Regions from separate parts of the Homo sapiens genome. Here region 1 is linked to region 2. The links are contacts of gene promoters, found by promoter capture Hi-C in human tissues and cell types (Jung and others, 2019). All regions are on one chromosome and are shown on one strand. The core of a region is centred on a gene start or on the middle of the fragment in contact, and the rest is flanking DNA. Distances in the headings are between cores, read along the strand shown.

Region 1 (3,950 bases), core at 808-3,307, 310 kb after region 2:
CTTTGTTCTTGGTGTTCAGCTGGACCTGCAAACCTCCTAGACACCAGCATCACAACACAGTCCTGGGGCAATTCCCCCGATCCCCACCCCAACCTCAGAGTGTCCTGGCCAGCTGGGGCCATGGCTTCTGGGGAGGATTTCCTGACTTAGGTGGGATCTTGTTCTCTTTTCTCTATCTCTGTCTCTCTCCCATTGTCTGGCTTTCTCTCTCTCTCTCTCTGTCTCTCTCTCTCTCTCTCTCTCTCTCACACACACACACACACACACACACACACACACACACACACACACACGTACGTGCCTCAAGAGGGCCTCTTACGGCCCCAGCCACTGTTTCTCAGTTATCTGGAGCAGCTGCACATTGCAGCAGCGCCTTCCACATGCCACATGCTGTGCTTGTTGGACGTGGACCTGCCATGTGTCGACATCTGTGTTTTGCTTTGTTTCTTATTTCACAGTGATTTCTTCTGTTTGGTTGTTGTGCTATGAACATGGATTCTCGTGTGGGTGCCTCTTTCTCATCCCCTCTTTTTTCTCTCCCCTCCTTTCCCTTCCTGCACCCTGTGTTGCATGTGGCTGCCCCAGGGAGTAAAGGGCCAACCAGGCGAGAAGGTGAGTCCACACTTTCCCCTTCTGCCCTGCACCCAGCCTCCTCCTCCAGGTGGACTCTTGATGGGAGGCTCTCAGCCCTCCCCCCCATGAAAGCCGCAGCAGAGGGTGCTGGCTGGGCCTGCTGCCCTCACTGCCTCTCACGGCCCCGTTTCCTAACAGCTTCCATAACATCGGGCAGCAGTCTTGGGATTCCTGGGCGGCGGTCCCAGCTTTCCCAGCTGAGGAGGTCTTCCCTGCCTTGCCCTGCCCTGACAGCATGAGGCCTCATCGCTCTGGCCAATCGCTATTTTGTGTAGCTGGAACTGCCCAGGGGGACCCCCGAGGCTATGGAATAGAGCCCCCCTGGGAAGTCAGAAATCCAGAAGCCATCCTGGAACATCAGCCCTGGGGGGTTCTTGAGAGATTTCTGAGAGCAACACTTCTTTTTTTTTTTTGAGATTGAGTCTCGCTCTGTCACCCAGGCTGGAGCGCAGTGGCGAGATCTCGGCTCACTGCAACCTCCGTCTCCTGGGTTCAAGCAATTCTCCTACCTCAGCCTCCCAAGTAGCTGGGATTATAGGCCTGTGCCACCACACCCAGCTAATTTTTGCAGTTTTAGTAGAGACAGGGTTTTACCATGTTGGCCAGGCTGGTCTCGAATTCCTGACCTCAGGTGATCCGCCCACTTGTCCTCCCAAAGTGCTGGGATTACAGGTGTGAGCCACCATGCCTGGCCAAGCACAACACTTCTAAAGAGTTCACTCTGCAGGTGAGGAAACTCATCTGATGCCCAAGGAAGGAGCAGGGCTGGCCCAAGATGGCACAGCAATAGTGATGAGCAGGGGCTCCAAGCCAGACCTCCCGGTGCCCGGCTCTGTACTTCCCTGTCTGTAATGCAGTATTTCTGCAATAGTTTCCCATCTCCAAAATAACAATCTCAACAATTATAATACAGTTGCCATGTATTAAACACAAATTGTGTCAGGTGCGGGTTTAAGTATTTTGTCTGTTTTCCCAACTAGCACTGACATAACCTTTTCAGGGAAGCTTTAATATTCTCATTTACACGAGGCACAGAGAGGCCAAGTCACATGCCCCGGGTCACACAGCTAGAATGTGACAGAGATGGAGAGGTGCCCCAGTGTGTCTGACTCCAAGGCTGGGGCTCCTAGCTACCATGCTATTCTGTCCTCATATTGGAACTAGACTGTCAGCTCCACATTGGCATGAGGCTAAACTGCCTAGGAGAAAGACACATGACCCCTTCCATGGACCAGGCATTGTTTTAAGTACTTTACATTATCACATGACATCTTCACATCCACCCTATGAGACAGGCGCTATCTGTATCCTTACAGATGAGAAGACAGGCACGGGGACATTAAGTCGCTTGCCCAAGGTCACACAGCTGGTGGGTAGCAGAGCTGATCTTCAGACCCAAGCATTCTGGCTCTTAACCATGACACTACACCGCCTTGTATAAAAATTATTGTATCATTGCCATGACATAAACAGTTACTAACTTGAAATCATCCCTCGCCTGCCTGTAAGGTATGACATTTTCCAAAATGCGTTTCCCGTAAGGGCAACAGAGCCGCTCTCAGCATTCCTGTTCCCAGAGGAGGTATGTGGGCTCAGAGAGGTTTTGTGACTTTTCCTGGCAGAGTAGGACCTTGAACTTAGGGACACACACACGCACACATGGCACTTGTCTAGCTAGCTCAGCCACCCTTGACAGCACTTTGAGCTCATCATTCAGCAGCATCTGCCTTCCTCTCAGAGCTGACATTCTGCCCTGGCCTTCACCCCTCCATGTCATTCTGAAACCGGGACTAGGGAATTTGAGGCAGCTCAACCTTTCAGGGTCAGGGATGCTGAGTTCACACAGCACGCATGTTGCTCGTGTCCCCCTCCTCTGTTTTCACAGTCCCATTCTCGGGCAGGTCACTGTTCAGCAGTTGCAGGGTGTGCGGCCAGATGGGTATTTGCGGAGGGGGAGCTGGAAAGCATCCTGGGCTGGGCCGGGGAGAGACTCAGGCCTGGGCAGCCTTGCTAAGTCTCCCCTCTCTCCCTGTGTCTCCCTGTTTCCCGCCACTCCAATGGATCCTGTTCTTCTCGCTTCCCCGGCCTGGGGTCCCACCACCCTGTCTCCCCGGAACCCCATGTCCTGTGTTCTCACTGACACCTCTTCTCCTTTCCCTCCTGCTGCTTCCCCCTACTACCTGCCCTTCCCAACCCATTCTGAATGCTCCCTCCTTGCCCCTGTGCCCTCTGTGTTGACTCTGCTGATCCCCTCGTGGCCCTCCACGTCCCCTGGCATCCCTCTCCTGTCCCATGGGGCCGGCCTCCTGCTCCTGGCCCCCTGCCAGCTCCTTCCCTTTGGTTCCTCTCTTTCCCGCTCCTCTTCTCCATACCTCCCTGCCCCTCGCTCCCTCTCCCCCTTCCTCTCTCCCCGCAGGGGTCCCCCGGAGACGCTGGGCTGTCCATCATTGGTCCCCGCGGCCCCCCTGTAAGTTGTTTTTGCTCTTCCTCGGGGTGTTGGGGGGATGGGTGAGTTGATGAAAAGGGCTTTTAGGCTGGGGATGAGGGGACAGCGAGGGCGGCTGTGCCCCTGGGTGGGGAGGCCACCGCATGTGATGTGGTCAGCCCAGCCAGGCCTCGGGTGCCGATGTTGATGTTAAGGAAAGTGGCCTGGCTAAATATACCTAAATTACAGTCCCTTGGGAGGGTTCTGAGGGACCTGCCCTCTAGCCACGAAACTACAGCAGCTGCAAGGCGGCCCTGCTGTTTACAGACAGAAGGGAGAAAGGGCTCGCTCTCCTCCGGATGGGGTGATCCGGCTTTCCCGGGAACCAGCCTTTGTTTCTGGAAGCCCATGGAGCAGATACGAGTCCGGGTTCACTGACCCAGGCACGCACTACTGGTCTTGCCGGAGGGCCAGCCCACACTCACCCTCACAGATGCCTCTGTGTGCAGTGCTGGGTCCTGTGTGTTCACTAGCACCCTCCACCCCGTGGCTGGGAGCTTGAGAAAACCAGCGAGGCTCCCCTCACATGTGCTTCCTTAAGGACCAAAACAGGGGTGTGGGTGATGAAGCCAGCAAGATATCGAGGCTGTGGGAGGAAGGGCTTGTTATTTTCCCAGAGCCCTGAACCACGGGGCTTTAATAAAATCACCACACGTCAGGGTGGAAAGGATCCCAGGGATGGTCTAACACAGCCCTCTCAGAAGGGGAAACTGAGGCTCAGAGAGGGGGAGCGCCCTCCCGTGTAGAGGCTGGGCAGGATTAGAACCGAGGAGCCCCGGCCTCACCACAGCAGCAGGCCGCCGGCTCCACCTTCTGCACTTTTCCTGACCCG
Region 2 (3,874 bases), core at 1,309-3,808:
GGTGTGGCTGGAAACCTTGAACAGTTTCTTAATAAGTTTTCAATCAAGGCTGCCAGGTGATGAGGGAGGGGGCGTTGCTGGATATTCCAGCCAGACGCTCCACCTTCTTTGCTCCTGGCTGCTCAGTTCAAGGAGTTCACGACACAGCCACCTCAGTGCCTGGGGAGTAAAATATGCTCAGGGGATTTGCTAGGCCTCTAAGCACCTTGGGAAAATTCCTAGGATGCCCAGCCCAGCCGTGTTTCCGAGGACTCTGACTCTGCAATTGAATTATTACTGTATCCCTTCCCCAAGTGCAACCAACAGTTGCTCTAAAGCTAGGCTGGTGGAGTTGGGGAAAGGGCCAGCAAGTGAGAGTCAGTTGTCCTAGTTGGAGGCTTGTCTTTCTTCTAAACCACTCTTTGAAATAAGAGGAGTCATTGCCCTATATAGAAAAAAGGGAGCTGGACCAATAATTACTTAGAAGACTTCCAGCTCTCCAAACCCAATCTGCCCTGGCTCTAGCCCAGACCTCCAGAAAGAGTGTCATCCCTCTCTTTGGACAGAAGTGCTCTTCCTCAGCTGTAGTGACTGTGGCCCTCCTCTCCCCAACACACAATGGAGTCATCTTGCCAAGGCTTCTTGAAGGTCCATTTTTTTTTATTGGCTTAAAATCTCATCCAGCAATCCCTAAATAATCTAATATACAAAATATAGGCTTTTCCCTGCTGTGAAATCTCATTAATAAATACAAATGTGTAAAACAGGGGAGGGGCCATATAATTTACTGTACCAAAATTGATTTCAAAAGGCATCATATAATTTACAAACAGATTTAAAAAAAAAAGATGCGCGGTGCTCCAGGCACCTGCAGCGCAGCTCACGTTTCAGGCGCAGTTCGCAGGGAGGCTGGGGAGATGCTCCCTGGCCGGGCTAGCGCTTTCCCAGTTCACAGCCTGGTCTTCCGCCCCGGGAGGGCAATGGCTCCGAAAAGTGCACGAGGAGAAGGCAGAGGGTCGCCTTCGTGGCTTTAAGGCAGAGTGAGGCGCCCTGAAATCCCGGACCTGATTGGGAGTAGAGCAGATCGGCAGCGTCTTTGGAGCAAGGCAAGGGGAGTAAGCGCTGAGAGACCAAACATTGGATTGAATCACATTGGAGGAGGGGTGGTAAGAGACTGAGAGGCAGACAGACTTGAGTGAGGGTAGGGCGACCCAAGACGGTGGGCGGCTCCGGCCGGGTAGTGCTACCATTCTAGTATTCTTTGAATGAGATTATGGGGTGGTGGCAGAGAGGAGGCCTAAAATGAGCGCACTTTGCAATGCCCACTTCGCGCGGGCAGCAGCAAGGGTTGCGTGCGTTGGCGCGGCTCGGAGGGCCGGGGAATGAACCCAGCCTGCCGCCCCCGTGGAGGCCTGGGCCGGCCAGGGGTCAGCCAGGGAGAAGCAGAAGGAACAAGTGCTTTTGAGGGCCGCCGCCGTCGGCCACCCTCTACGGCTCCCGGCTCCCTCCCTCTCCCTTACCCTTAGCACCCACAGCCCAGCGACAGACAGGTCCTTTCACAGAAAATCTGAGAAAGCCAGACTGCCTGGGCTCAAGCAGGCGGAAAAGGTGGCCCCCAGCAGCCCGGGTCGCTCCTCCAGCGACGCGGCGGGACTCAGGCTGCCAGCCTGGGAGACTGGGGAGTAGAGGGACCCCCAGTCCCCGGGGGAACCGCCTGGGCTGCCCAGCTCCCCGCAGTGCGGCGCCGGCGGCTCCAGCGCGTACAAGCTGTGGTCCGCTATGCGCAGCGTTTGAGTCAGCGCCCAGATGTAGTTGTGGGCGAAGCGCAGCGTCTCGATCTTGGTGAGCTTCGCGTCGTCTGGGAAGGTGGGCAGGACACCGCGCAGGGCGTCCAGTGCCGAGTTGAGGTTGTGCATTCGATTGCGCTCGCGGTCGTTGGCCTTCTTTCGCCGACTCCGTCGCTGCTTGCTCAGTGCCAACTCGCTCTTAGGCCGGCTGCGTCCCCCGCGCCGTGCCCGGAGCTTCCTCGGGGCCCCTCGGCAGCCTCCCTCTTCCGCCTCTGCGCAGTTCCCCCGTGTGCGAGTGGGGCTGGGCGGGGCGGACGTGGGGCAGGTCACTTCGTCTTCCGAGGCTCTGGGGAAGGACCGCTCCGTCTCACGGGTCACTTGGACAGTGGGCGCACCCGAGGGTTGAGGCGTCATCCTACGGCGGGGTCAGAGGGAAGGGTAAGTTTGAGTCCGTCACTGGGCGCAGTCCGCGATTCCGAGGCTAGGTGGGAAAAAACAAAAACAGCCATCCTCCCAGCCCCCGCTGGGTCAGAGGATCCCTCTTTCCCCTGCCCGTCCCTCGGAGGCCTCCAAATATTACCTTTCTACCGGCGCAAAAGAATAGAGAGCGATGAGCAGCGAGGGCCGTGGGGAGCTCAGCGGGCTTCTGGTCGCCAAGTTCAGCTGAGCTGCAGGCGCCCCCGCCTGGGAGTTGCCCCAGCCCCAAAGGAGAAAAGAAGAGAGAATGGGGTCCGAGGCCTCTGTCACGCTCTCTCTCGAGGCGCGGCGGTGAGACCGCAGGGATTTCCTGAGCAGCAAGTCGTGTGCCCCTTGGCACGCTTTATCTGCTTCGCCCGGGCCAGGAGCGTGCCTGCCCGGCTGCTGCCCGCGCCACCGGCCAATCAGCGCCGGGGCCCTGGGGCCGCGCCACGCGAGCCCGCTCCTCCCCCGCAGGGCACAGCTGGATTCCGGACAAAGGGCCGGGGTCGGGGGAGGGGAGCGCCGCTCTGTTTGCTCTCTCGAGGGCGGGCTGGGTCCCAGCAACTCTCGGTTCCTCAAAGAGCCTCGCCCAGTGAGAAGAGCCTCGTGTGGCTCTGGTCAGGCCACCTCAGACGGCTTTGCTCCTAGCCTATCTTTCCTTAGCATCTGTCCTGGAGGGGACTTTGATGCCTCTAGGGTACAATGCCTGCACGTTACACATGGGGAAATTTAGGCTTAGTGAGGGAGGTGGCTTGTCTGAAATCGCACAGGAAGATAGTGGCAAAGACAACCACGAGCTCATTGTCCTGACTAGCAGCCTGGAGAAGGGTCCAGGAATTCTAAAGGACGCCCTGCTCTCCTGGTGTTTCACTGCCTCTCTTCATCCTGGAAGACAGGGGACATCACTGAGAGAGATCCTGCCTATGTCCCTTCCATTCGCAGACCTTTTGGGGGTGTCCGAGCCTCTGCCACACCCTGAGATGCTACCTCACACTCCCCAGAGGCGCTTAGAACCCCACCCCCATAGATCCCACTCCAGAGGCAGGGGTTGGCTGTGCGGGGACCCCTCAAGCGGACATTCCATTACTACAAGCCTACTACAGCTTGTAGATAGTATCCCAGCGTTCTGGCCAGGAACCGTGACAGGAAGAGTTCTGGGAAGTGTGAGGAGGGGAGGAAGGAACCAGGAGTTCACAGTGAGCTCTTGCTTCTTTTTTTTTTTAAACGAACAAACAAAACCAAAAAACGGTCTCCTTCTGTCGCCCAGGCTGGACTGCAGTGGTGCAATCACAGCTCACTGCAGCCTTGATCTCCTGGGCTCAAGCTATCCTCCCACTTCAGCCTTCCCAGTAGCTGAGACTACAGGCATGCGCCACTGTGCCCGGCTAATTTATTTGTATTTTTATTTTGTATGGGGTGAGGGGCGGTCTTGCTTTGTTGCCCAGGATGGTCTCGAACTCCTGGGCTCAAGCGTTCCTTTCACTTCAGTCTCCCAAGGCGCTGGGAAGCAGAGCTGCTGTGCCCCTCCCCCTCGTGTCTTTTGAACTACCACAGCGTGCAGGCACTGGGAGAAGCTGATAAACTTTTTCTCCCCTTAGTCCTCCGGTCCAATCACAGACAGACAGCAGCTGCCAGCAGTCACCTGCTCC

Evidence for each region. Contacts are between HindIII fragments. The study calls those that stand out against the background at their distance.
Region 1: a fragment that was not itself captured here is called in contact with the fragment with the promoter of NEUROG3 in region 2 in 1 of the 25 tissues and cell types used here (aorta).

The regions. Positions count from the first base shown.
Region 1 is chr10:69,877,454-69,881,403 of GRCh38, forward strand. It overlaps COL13A1 (collagen type XIII alpha 1 chain), which reads left to right. Exons shown (of 41, transcript NM_001368882.1): 6 at 586-612; 7 at 3,050-3,100. Among named protein-coding and RNA genes, the nearest start is that of COL13A1, 78 kb to the left of the region's middle. The HindIII fragment of the contact is 4,719 bases long and covers 1-3,950 here.
Region 2 is chr10:69,570,864-69,574,737 of GRCh38, forward strand. It overlaps NEUROG3 (neurogenin 3), which reads right to left and starts at 2,559. Exons shown (of 2, transcript NM_020999.4): 1 at 2,347-2,559; 2 at 835-2,181. The coding sequence starts at 2,180. The coding sequence ends at 1,536. It overlaps LOC101929021 (a long non-coding RNA gene), which reads left to right and starts at 2,094. Exons shown (of 4, transcript XR_946037.2): 1 at 2,094-2,204. RefSeq lists an enhancer at 725-1,352 and a silencer at 2,610-2,829. The HindIII fragment of the contact is 13,443 bases long and covers 1-3,874 here.